Regions from separate parts of the Homo sapiens genome. Here all the other regions are linked to region 1. The links are contacts of gene promoters, found by promoter capture Hi-C in blood cells and fetal thymus (Javierre and others, 2016). All regions are on one chromosome and are shown on one strand. Each heading gives the region's core, a stretch centred on a gene start or on the middle of the fragment in contact. The rest is flanking DNA. Distances are from core to core; before and after follow the strand shown. Region 1 holds the start of ACP2 (acid phosphatase 2, lysosomal). Region 2 overlaps LRP4 (LDL receptor related protein 4). Region 3 overlaps LRP4 (LDL receptor related protein 4). Region 4 has its middle 5.1 kb from the start of CSTPP1.

Evidence for each region. Contacts are between HindIII fragments. The CHiCAGO score rates a contact against its expected background, and 5 or more counts as called.
Region 2: a contact is called between a fragment that was not itself captured here and the fragment with the promoter of ACP2 in region 1, in 1 of 17 cell types (M1 macrophages). The highest score is 5.4, in M1 macrophages.
Region 3: a fragment that was not itself captured here is called in contact with the fragment with the promoter of ACP2 in region 1 in 1 of 17 cell types (erythroblasts); the score reaches 6.3 in erythroblasts.
Region 4: a contact is called between a fragment that was not itself captured here and the fragment with the promoter of ACP2 in region 1, in 3 of 17 cell types (naive B cells, total B cells and fetal thymus). The highest score is 5.6, in naive B cells.

What each region holds. Positions count from the first base shown.
Region 1 is chr11:47,247,257-47,250,218 of GRCh38, reverse strand. It overlaps ACP2 (acid phosphatase 2, lysosomal), which reads left to right and starts at 1,405. Exons shown (of 11, transcript NM_001610.4): 1 at 1,405-1,543; 2 at 2,086-2,181; 3 at 2,492-2,578. The coding sequence starts at 1,430. It also overlaps a transcript of NR1H3 not described here. RefSeq lists a silencer at 962-1,129 and enhancers at 1,210-1,719, 1,850-1,939. The HindIII fragment of the contact is 7,782 bases long and covers 845-2,962 here.
Region 2 is chr11:46,855,391-46,858,352 of GRCh38, reverse strand. LRP4 (LDL receptor related protein 4) reads left to right here. Exons shown (of 38, transcript NM_002334.4): 38 at 1-1,636. All of the region lies in intron 2 of LRP4-AS1 (LRP4 antisense RNA 1), which reads right to left. Among named protein-coding and RNA genes, the nearest start is that of LRP4-AS1, 10 kb to the right of the region's middle. The HindIII fragment of the contact is 2,101 bases long and covers 345-2,445 here.
Region 3 is chr11:46,905,203-46,908,164 of GRCh38, reverse strand. All of the region lies in intron 1 of LRP4 (LDL receptor related protein 4), which reads left to right. Among named protein-coding and RNA genes, the nearest start is that of LRP4, 12 kb to the left of the region's middle. RefSeq lists enhancers at 569-1,401, 1,402-2,236. The HindIII fragment of the contact is 1,309 bases long and covers 719-2,027 here.
Region 4 is chr11:46,930,154-46,933,115 of GRCh38, reverse strand. No RefSeq gene overlaps it. Among named protein-coding and RNA genes, the nearest start is that of CSTPP1, 5.1 kb to the left of the region's middle. The HindIII fragment of the contact is 2,128 bases long and covers 511-2,638 here.

The DNA.
Region 1 (2,962 bases), core at 156-2,655:
CTCAGGCTGGTCTCCAACTCCTGGGCTCAAGCAATCTTCCCACCCTGGCCTCCCAAAGTGCTGGGATTAGAAACGTGAGCCACCACACCAAGCCTAATCAGGTTTTTGTTGTTGTTGTTTTGAGACAGTCTCACTCTGTCGCGCAGGCTGGAGTGCAGTGGCGTGATCTCAGCTCACTGCAACCTCCGCTTTCCGAGTTCAAGCGATTCTCCTGCCTCAGCCTCCAGAGTAGCTGGGATTACAGGAGCACGCCACTGCACCCGGCTAATTTTTTTTTTTTTGTATTTTTAGTAGAGACGGGGTTTCGCCACGTTGGCCAGGCTGGTCTCGAACTCCTGACCTCAGGTGATCTGCCTGCTTCGGCCTCTCAAAGTGCTGGTATTACAGGTGAGCCACGGCGCCCAGGCCAAGCCTGATCAGTTTTGTTTCCCAAAGATCTGAGGAGATTTGCTTCCAGTAGGCAGATCTGAATCAAAGCATCCCCAGGACCTATGATCTGACCTGCAACCGTCACAGGAGTCACAAAGTCCTGAGGCCAAACTGGCTGCACCTGAATCCTAATGGTCAATGCCAAGAGGGCCATTGATTCTGTGGAAACCCCACCTACTCCCACTTTATGATATGCGCCTGTCCCTTACCTCAAAATACCTCCCCACTGGTCTGAAATTCCTCCCCCAGGGATTCAGTGCTTTGGGTTTGTAAAGTCTGAACATCCTGTGCAACCCAACTCCTTTGGGAAGAGGCATGACATGACGTCTTGACTCTAATTAACTAAAACTTGGAAGTGGAGGGGAGGGAGGACAGGGAAAGGACTGGAAGGGAAAGTGAGAGGGCTACTGAAGCTTTGTGCAGGGCAGGAACGGTAGGCCAGACTGGGGCAACCTCAAGGACACACGGAGTCCAAAGGGTTGTTTACATACTGTGTCCTGCACCCCAAGCAAAACATCTCCTGGAGAACAGGGCCAGGGCTCAATCTCCCCACAAAGGCAGGGGCGTGGAGAGAAGCGACCTCTACTTTCCCATCCCTCGCCTCAATTCTGCACCCGATCTAGCTATGGGGTCAAGCCTGGAGGGGACGCTGGTTCTCCAGACATGGTCCCGCCCACTGCAAGTGCCACCTTGGTAAGGGATTTCTCCGAGCAGAGGCAAACGCGAATTTGTGGCCTTCTTAATCAAGATGAGGTCTTCGAGCCCTGTCTGCCGCGCCAGGTCGCGTTACCTTCTTATGCTCCTCCGCCACAGCCAGACCACGACCCTCCTGCACGCAATCCCACCGAGACTGCGCCTTTTCCCCGCACCCCAGCAGGTCCCTAAGTAAGATGGCGGCGAACGCACTTCCGGCGTGTGTCCTTACGGGTGCGTCCGGGCGGCTGCTTGCAGGTGCCACCCAGCGGGTTCCAGCTTGTTTGCTGCATAGATTACAACGGTGATGGCGGGCAAGCGGTCCGGCTGGAGCCGGGCGGCTCTCCTCCAGCTCCTTCTCGGCGTGAACCTGGTGGTGATGCCGCCCACCCGGGCCCGGAGTCTGCGCTTCGTTACCTTGGTAATGAGAGATGGGCTCACCAAAGACTTCCCTGAAGCTAAAAGGGCAAAGGCCAGCTGGTGGAGGTCGAGGATCTCGGGAAGGAACAGCTGGTTTAGGAGGGGACGACTGGCCTGGGTAGTTGGGAGGCTGGATTCAGGATTGACCTGGAGCCCTGGCTTATGGGAGTCAGGATGACCGAATACGTCGGGGTGAGTCTGCCTTGAGACAGGGAAGTGGTTGAATGGTTAAGACTCATCCCTAAAGAAGCCTTTGGTTATCTTTTTTCCCCAGTTGTCCCCACCACATACGTTGCTTTCACTTCTCTTTTCCCTTCCTACCTGTACCTTGGCTTTGCCTATGGTCTCCAGTAGCATTGCTTAGCTAAGTTAGAATCTCTGGAATCTGGAAGAAGTGACTGACTCCTAGCTGGGGTCTTTTGCAGCCAGTAGGCTTCCCAGAGGGAATGAGACTTCCTTCCCTAACATGGGGCAAAAGGTAGGCTCTGGGTCCCTATCAAGGGGATGCTTCTGACCTATAGGCAAACCATTTTATTCTCTCAGCTGTACCGCCATGGAGACCGTTCACCAGTGAAGACATATCCCAAGGACCCCTATCAGGAAGAAGAATGGCCCCAGGGGTTTGGTCAGTTAACCAAGGTGGGTCAGAAGCCAGCCTTTCCTCAGGATGAGCTGCAGAATGAGCGACGTCTAGAGCAGTCTACAAAACTTGGGGTCCTACTAAACTGCCTTTTCCCATATGGGTGCTGACTTTGACCAGATTTCATAACCTTAATCTCTGTGCCCATGATATTGCTGTGCATGACTGGCCACTTAATGAAAGACTTCTGGGATCAGATTAATTGACTCCAGCAAAGCGTGAACCTGGAAAGCAACAGGGCCTAAACCCCATGGGGCTTGAAGCCACCCCTTCCCTCTAGACCCTCTTAACCCTTGGGTTTGCCCACAGGAGGGGATGCTACAGCACTGGGAACTGGGCCAGGCCCTGCGGCAGCGCTATCACGGCTTCCTAAACACCTCTTATCACCGGCAAGAGGTAAGGTTGGGAGCTCCAGAGGCAAGGGGAACAAGGTATGCTGCCCTCATCTTTTGCCCTCAGGGAGCCTAAGGCTGAGGCTGGGCACTTTGGCCTCCTTCTTGTATTTTTGGTCACAACTACAGGAAAAGACATCTGAGAGCTGTCTGGAACAAAGCCCTAGGAGCTGAGTTGCCCCTGCTTGGCTGGGATGAGGCAAATTTGATTAAGCATCCAAATTCGGACTTAAGGGCGGGCCTGGCAAAGTGGTTTCTGACTGTGAAATCACAGGCTTTCCATCCAAGACATTGAGTACCTATTAAAGGCCAAGGACTGTGCTAGCACTTTGCATTCAGTTGTGCACCATACAGATATGATCTCTGTCTTCATGGAGCTTAGAATGTT
Region 2 (2,962 bases), core at 146-2,645, 390 kb after region 1:
CTGCCTTTTCAGCAGCAGATACTGGTGAGATGGGGGTGGCTCAGGCTGTTCTTCCTCCTCCTAGAATGTCTGGAGCTGTTTCTACATTCAGATAACTGGGTCCCCTATCACAAGGCTACTGGCTAATAGGAATTCCCTCCTGGTGCCACCACTGGCCAGTACCTTTCCTAAGTCTTTGCTCAAATTAACCAGGTTGTGAGCCAGTGGCTTGAGTGAATGTTAGGCCTTGGGGGCTGAGTCTCTGAAAAGTCTAAGAAGCTCTGCCTAGACCAAATATGGTATACCTCCTGACCCCTCTCTCCCTCATGTCCTGGGATTCTGGGGAAGAGACCTAGAAACAAGCTTTCAAAGAAAAACCAGAAGTTGTCATAAATGGTCAGAAAGAACGATCAGGTTGGAGACTTGGGAAACCCAGGGCCTAAAGAGAAGTATCCATGAGGGTCAAACTTCCTGTTGAACTTCCTATGTTCTTTCTCAAGTGCTCAGGGATCTAAGTTAGTGGACAGCAAGCCTGTGGCTACGGGGTGGTGATGTTCCTCTTCCAGCTGTCCCCTCAGCTAAGGGGCTTAGTTTCCATGTGGGATGCCATCACTTGGTTCATGCTCATTCACACAAAGGGCACGTGTCTCAGCCTGGTATCAGGGAAATTGAGACTTATTTTTGCCCTAAAACGTCTCCCTAGCTGTTCTTCGTGGGGTTTTTTTGTTTGTTTTTTTGCCTAATTTGCTTTTTCTGACCAAGCCTTGTGGCACCAGCAATCTCCAAAGTCCTGTGGTGGGAGGGCTGAATAAATAAAAATACAAAGAGGTGGGTAAGGAGTAGGAAGGTAGAGAGCACCACTGATGAGGCCCTCCTAGCCCATGGCAGACCCAGACCTCTTCTCCCCCAGGAATTAGAAGTGGCAGGAGAGAACAACAGGGGCTGGGAATGGAGGGGAGAATTTCTAGGGGAAGTTTCCTGAGTTGAAACTTCTCCTGTGGTTACTGGTATTGAGAAATCAGCTACCAAAGTGAAAAAGGACAAGATCAATTCTTTTCTAGTCAGTTCTAAGACTGCTAGAGAGAGATACCAGGCCCTTAGCCTTGCTCTCAGTAGCGTCAGCCCCAGTTCTGAGCCTCCCCACATTACACTTAACAAGCAGTAAAGGAGTGAGCACTTTGGGTCCTTAGACTCACGTCTGGGGAGGAAGAGCAAGTAGAAAAGTGGCATTTTCTTGATTGGAAAGGGGGAAGGATCTTATTGCACTTGGGCTGTTCAGAATGTAGAAAGGACATATTTGAGGAAGTATCTATTTGAGCACTGATTTACTCTGTAAAAAGCAAAATCTCTCTGTCCTAAACTAATGGAAGCGATTCTCCCATGCTCATGTGTAATGGTTTTAACGTTACTCACTGGAGAGATTGGACTTTCTGGAGTTATTTAACCACTATGTTCAGTATTTTAGGACTTTATGATAATTTAATATAAATTTAGCTTTTCTTAATCACCTTGCCTGGCTTGGAGTCATGACTAATCCTGCACCTGCTCTGTCTGGCAGACCCATGCTGTGGAAAACCTGCTTACAGACATCACTTTTAAGTCCTTTGTGGATGTGGGCACAGTGAAGAGCAATAAAGAGTGTGAGGTTCCTGCTGGAGTTTTCAGCTCATCTGGAGAAGACAGGTCGAGGCCAGAGTTCCTTGACTGATGAAACCTTTATTTCCTCTGGAAGAGGAATGGTAGATGGGTTTCCTCTTGAGTGCTGACTCTGACTGGTTGGTAGTGGCTGCCTGAGGGCCTATTCGCACCCAATGGGAAGAATGTCATATGGCTAGTGACATCTCTTCTGTGCACTGGAAGGAAATGTCATGGCATGTATACCATGTATCTTCTATTTCTGTTCTAGGTCTTTGTTACAGAACTTTACTTTGCCTTGCAGTGATGGTCACTGGCAAGACTATCTCATGTAGTAAGAAAAGTACTGGAGCTGGGGACATGGAGGGCTAATTCCAGTCCCAGATCTGCCACTAGCTCTGTTTGATCTTAGTCAACTTTCATAGTTAGTCTGAGAGTGGATCAAATTATCACTAGGATTTCATTTATTTTTAAAAGCTGTCTTTTCATAGCTCATCCACTACTTCTCAAGGCTAGAACAAGGAGCTAGGGATCCCTTCTCAGGTTCTCTGGATGTGATATCCCTCAGTGAAAACTGGGAATCATGTTAATCTCAACGCCCGATGTAGAATTTCATGTCAAGTCTCAATAGTTGATTTTCTAAACCACACACCATCTATAGGATAATATCCCCATTCATTCATTCATTCATTCATTCATTCATCTGCTATGGGCTAGGCACTGCCCATGCCTAAACAAAGACATAATCTTACAGAGCTTAGAGTCTAGCAACACCATTACCACCACCATCCCAAAAAAAGACAAAAAATGAAAGTAAGAAAGACTGAAGCTTCTTGTATTTAAGTGACCAGAGATCTGAGTATAAGCTACAGTGTATAATTTTTCTAACTGTAGTAAGGAGTAGGTGTGCCAGAACAAAAACAAGTAGAATAGCCCAAGGATAACCATCCCTCCAACCCCCACTGTTCTCTTTGGGAGGGAAAAAAAAAGCAGAAAAGGAGGACATCTTGGGATAAAACAAAGGTTGGGAATTCCTTGTCTAGTTCTCTGGTATAAAATCTGAAACTAGGGTCAGGCACAGTGGCTACACCAAAGTAATCTCACCACTTTGGGAGGCCAAGACAGAAGTAAGGAGTATTGCTTGAGGCCTGGAGTTCACGATCAGCCTGGGCAACATGACAGGACCATATCTCTACAAAAAAATTTAAAAATATTAGTCAGGTGTGGTAGCTCATGCCTGTAGTCCCAGCTGCTTGGGAGGCTGAGGCAGGAGGATTGCTTGAGCCCAGGAGTTCAAGGTTACAGTGAGCTATGATCACGCCACTGCATTCCATCCTGGGTAACAGAG
Region 3 (2,962 bases), core at 124-2,623, 340 kb after region 1:
AGGTCAGGAATTTAAGACCACCCTGGCCAACATGGTGAATCCCCGTCTCTACTAAAAATACAAAAATTGGCCAGGTGCAGTGATGGGTGCCTGTAATCCCAGCTACTCAGGAGGCTGAGGCAGGAGAATTGCTTCTCGGGAGGCGGAGGTTGCCGTAAGCTGAGATCGCGCCACTGCACTCCAGCCTGGGCAACACAGCAAGATTCCATCTCGGAAAAAAAAAAGATGGTTATATTATTATGAAGCTTTTGCTGTGTGTTAGCCCTGTGCTAAGCAGTTTATATGGGTTAATCTTTACAAAGCCCTTTGAGTTAGAACTGTTAATATTCCCATTTTATGGATGAGGAAACTGAGGCCTGGAGGGATTAACTAACTTGCTCAAAATTGCGGAATTTGTGGTAGAACCAAGATTTGAACCTTCATCTCTCTGACTTTAGAATCTATGTTGTCTACTACTAAGTTAGTGTGTCTTGTATACCAGATGGATGTTTCCCTTCTTTCCTTTATATCAGGGCTGTCCAGACTTTTGGCTTCCCTGGGCTACACTGGAAGAAGGATTGTCTTGGGCCACACATAAAATACATGAACATTAACAACAGCTGATGAGCTAAGAAAAAAGAAATCGCAAGTAATCTCATGTTTTAAGGAAGTTTACGAATTTGTGTTGGGCCACATTCAAAGCCATCCTGGGCCATGCAAGTCTCAGGTTGGACAAGCTTGCTTTATATGAAAGCCGTGAGAAAGTGGTAAGATGGCGGGAGTGGGAGAGATGAGATGTAAAAGGTAAGATTTTAGTTAACCTCTAGAGAAACATCCTATGAGCACATTAACATATATCCCAAAAGCTGGATGGCTTCATGATCAAAGATACCTTGCGGACAGACCTTTTCCATAGTGAATTGCATTAGGTGGAGGGGCTAGAGCCCAGGCCCCTGGAGGCTAAGGGAGCTTGCGATGTGGCTGGCAGCTTTCAAGGCCAGAGCATAGTGAAGTGTTCTAATTCAACACTTCTTAAAATGAAGGCTGCATTTTGCCACCCACAGTCATTTGTTTTCTTTCTTCACTCACCATTCTTTTCCTTAAAAAGGGTTAAAAGCTGCCTTTATGATCACAGCCAGGACTTGAGTGAAAAGGCAGAATTCCACCTCTGAGGACCCCAGAGGGACAGCAGTTGCCCAGAAGAGCTGGCTTTTTGGAGTATAATGTGTCTGTTTACTGTATGAATGCCCAAGTCAAGCGTTTGCCTGACCGGTGGCTGCCCGCCCTTCACTGCAGCGGACGCTGAGATGTTGATTTGACATGCAGGAAGTCGAGGCCCTTCAACTGCCTGCAACTAACTTGATGCCCACCGATGGAATGCTTTGTTCCTACAGTCTGCGCGGGGGAAATCGGGACTTCTGTTATCACTCAGCCAAAGGCGGGGGTGGGGCCCTAAAAAAACAAACGGAGCTTAAGGTTCTTCCCTACCAGTATGACTTTTCATTTGCACGCAGCCCCAGGACACTGCTCTACTTGCTCTATTCTGGTACTCTGATTCTTAATATCAAGGCCTTTTGGAAAAATTTAGCCTCCACAGCCCTGCATCTGCACAGCCCTGCATCTGCACACCCCAGCCTCCATTATTGAACATCTTTGGTGTGCCAAGGCATAAGATTAGTTTTTTCCACCTTTATTTTCTTGTCTAATCTTTGTTGCTTTTTTTTTTTTTCGAGACAGAGTCTCGCTGTGTTGCCCAGGCTGCAGTGCAGTGGCGTGATCTCTGCTCATTGCAACCTCTGCCTCCATGGTTCAAGCAATTCTTTTGCTTCAGCCTCCCAAGTAGCTGGGACTACAGGCGTGCGCCACCACGCCCAGCTAATTTTTGTATTTTTAGTAGAGACAGGTTTTCACCATGTTGGCCAGGCTGGTCTCAAACTCCTGACCTCAAGTGATCTGCCCGCCTCAGCCTCCCAAAGTGCTAGGATTATAGGCATGAGCCACCATGTTCAGCCCCTTGTGGCTTTTTTACAAACAAGAAAACTGAAGCTTAAGGGGCTACGTGACTTGCACAAGGTCAACTGGCTGGTCGATGGAACCCAAGTCTGTCTGCTCCAGGTCCAGTGCTTTGTCCTCTGCCTAACCTCCTCCTCCTATTCCCCCCTACTTCCTCTCTGTCCTTTCCACAGCTTTCATCCTGAACTCCCGTCTGGTACATCCCCACTCCCTACTGTGTGTGGTTAGCAGCATTTCTCAACCTCTGTTGATGTTTTGGGCCAGATAATTCTTTGTCATAGGGGCCTGTCTGCATGTTATAGATTTTTTTTTTTTTTTTTGAGACGGAGTTTCGCTCCTGTTGCCCAGGTTGGAGTGCAATGGCATGATCTCCCCTCACCGCAACCTCTGCCTCCTGGGTTCAAGCAATTCTCCTGCCTCAGCCTCCCAAGTAGCTGGGATTACAGGTGCCCACCACCATACCCGGCTCATTTTTGTATTTTTAGTAGAGACGGGGGTTTCACCACATTGGCCATGCTGGTCTTGAACTCCTGACCTCAGGTGATCCGCCCACCTGGGCCTCCCAAAGTGCTGGGATTACAGGCGTGTAATCCTGTATAGAATTATACACGTTATAGAGTCTTTAGCAGCATCCCTAGCTTCTACCCACCAGATGTCGGTAAGCACCGCCAAGCAGGACAACCAAAAATGTCTCCAAACATTGCTAAATGTCCTCCGGGGGACAAAATATCCCCAGTTGAGATCCTTATTAGCCTTATCCTTTTTCTTCACCATGATACCCCATGAAGGGGATCTGTGTACCGGGGAGTCCCATCACATGGAGTGGAATTAAACATCTTTGCTGTTCAATCCAGCTAGAGTTCACCAAAAGGGTGCCTACAGCTGTGCTGAGCCTGTCATACTACTGAAGTTCCTCAGGCTGTGTTGTCCAGGATCTGAGTGAGAAAAACCCTCCTCCCTTCTCAGAGTT
Region 4 (2,962 bases), core at 325-2,824, 320 kb after region 1:
TATAAGGTCTCCCTTTGTCACCCAGGCTGGAGTGCAATGGCACAATCACAACTCACTGTAGCCTGGAATTCTTGGGCTCAAGTAATCCTCCCACCTCAGCCTCCTGAGTAGCTGGGATCACTGGTGCATGCCACCACATCCAGATAATATTTTTAATTTTGTAGAGACAAGGTCTTGCTAGGTAGCCCAGGCTGGTTTCGAATTCCTGAGCTCAAGCAATCCTCCTGCCTCAGTCTCCCAAAGTGCATGAGCCACTGCACCCAGCTGAGACATCAATTTATCAGATTATAATTTCTGATTTTATAATGAGAAAATTAATAGACATCTCTGGCTCTGCAGAAGACCTATTAAGAGATTGATAGGGAAGAAAATCCTCCCTATAATTGAAGACTATAGAAAAGCAAACGGTGAATACACTAAACAGTTTTAAACTTCAAGGAAGCAATAAGGAAAGAATAAATGCAGGCTGAATTATTGCTATAAAACAGGTTCAAGAAACTAGGACAAGCTTTTATCAACTGATCAAGCAGAAAAGATGCTAAAGGCAAAGTAGCTACTAAGAAATGCAGGTCATGAAATTCATGCTGAGCTACTAGGCTCTGCATGAAAGGCTTATCTTCCACAAGAGCACAGCAGAAACTAAGTGTGATGCCACTGTCTGGGATTCATATGTTTCAATTAAAAATGCTATTTATAGAAGGTAATTTTGTACTGCCACAAGCCAATGGACCAGAGCTTTGGAGTAATTTGTAAAGAAAAGAAATGTTCACAAACTCTTGGGCAGTTAAGAATAACTAATGCATTGTAAGAAACTAGTTAAGGGGATATGGCGTAAATTGAACTGAAGTTCAAAGGTAATTATGGACTGTACTTTCTTGTTATTCTATGTTTTCAAATGCTGCAATAAGAGTTGCAAATTACACATTCATATAGTTTGAAAGGGGGGATGATTTACTGATTCTTGGTAGCCCACAAAAATTAGTTATGCCTTCTTCTGTCCTAGACTATGCAGTTTTGTTTTGTTTTGTTTTGTTTTGTTTTGTTTTGTTTTTTTGAGACAGAGACTCGCTCTTTCACCCAGGCTGGACTGCAGTGGCGTGATCTCGGCTCACTGCAACCTCCACCTCCCGGGTTCAAGAGATTTTCCTGCCTCAGCCTCCCAAGTAGCTGGGATTACAGGCATGCGCACTGCACCTGGCTGATTTTGTATTTTTAGTAGAGACGGGGTTTCTCCATTTTGGTCAGGCTGCTCTCGAACTCCTGACCTCAGGTGATCCACCCGCCTCAGCCTCCTAAAGTGCTGGGATTACAGGCGTGAGCCACCGCGCCCAGCTAGTATGCACTTTTATAACCATTTATGTCTTTTTAAAAAATTCTTCCTACTAGATTGTGAGTTCCATGAGGGCAGAGACAGTCTTCATTCATCTTTAAATTTCTGGGACCATGTGCAGTGCCTGCAGAAATCAGTTATACAATAAACGTCTGTTAAATGAATTTGTTTCCCTCTAGATTAGAAGTTTAGAAAACAAAGACCTACCAATCAATAGGATTTATGGGCGCCTCATGGCAATCAATTCATTAAAAATATTTATTAAAGAAAAAGGTGGCCAAGTGTGGTGGCTCATGCCTTTAATCCCAGCTGCTCAGGAGGCTGAGGCAAAAGGATCAGCTGAGCCTGGGGTGATCATGCCACTGCACTCCAACCTGGAGCGAGACCCTATCTCAAAAAAAAAAAAACAAAAAAACCAAAACCAAAAACCCCAAAACGGCCAGAAAAACAAAAGGCATCATTGAGAAAGACATTAAAAGTCAATCAGAAAGCACTGGCAAATGCTTCCTACACCTAAATAACCATGTATAAAATACCCAGACTGACCGGGCGCAGTGGCTCACGCCTGTAATCCCAGCACTTTGGGTGGCCGAGGTGGGCAGATCACCTGAGGTCAGGAGTTCGAGACCAGCCTGGCCAACATGGTGAAACCCTGTCTCTACTAAAAATACAAAAATTAGCTGGACACGGTGGCACGCACCTGTAATCCCAGCTACTTAGGAGGCTGAGGCACAAGAATTGCTTGAACCTGGGAGGCAGAGGCTGCAGTGAGCTGAGATCGTGCCACTGCACTCCAGCCTGGGCGACAGAGCAAGACTCCATCTCAAAAAAAAAAAAAAAAAAGTGCCCAGACTAGGCATGGTGGCTCATGCCTATAGTCCCAGGATTTTGAGAGGCCAAGGCAAGAGGATTGCTTTAGCCCAGGAATTTGAGACCAGCCTGGACAACATAGTGAGACCCATCTCTACAAAAAATATGTTTAAAAATAAATAATTAAAATAAAAACTAGCCAGGTATGATGACACACACCTAAAGTCCCAGCTACTTGGGTGGCTGAGACGGGAGGATAACTTGAGCCCAAGAGTTCAAGGCTGCAGTGAGCCATGATCATGCCACTGCATTTCAGCCTGGGTAACAGAGTGAGACCCTGTCTCAAACAAACAAATTCCCAGGAAAAAAGCAACTAACAACAAAGTGTTTAGAGAGAATGCTTCGTGTACATAACAGAATTAGTTCAGAAGGATGAGAGAGAATGTGCTAGATATCAAATTTAAGATATGAACTGGGAGTTCCCAAATTTCAGAAGCTTAGGACAAGAAGCTGGAGTCTCTGTGTCTATTTTTTCTTTCTCCCCCAAATCATCCTCTACATTGTCACAAGAGTATGTCATTCTGAAGTTCAAATTTGACCATGTTACTTCCTTATTTAAAAAGTGTTGCTAGGCAATGCACAATGACTCACACCTGTAATCCCAGCACTTTGGGAGGCTGAGGTGGGGGGATCACTTAAGGACAGGAGTTTGAGATCAGTCTGATCAACATAGCAAGACACCATATCTACATTAAAAAAAAAAAAAGGTGTTGCTGCTGACTCACCATTACTAGGAAGAAGCAAAACTTCACATGCAGACAT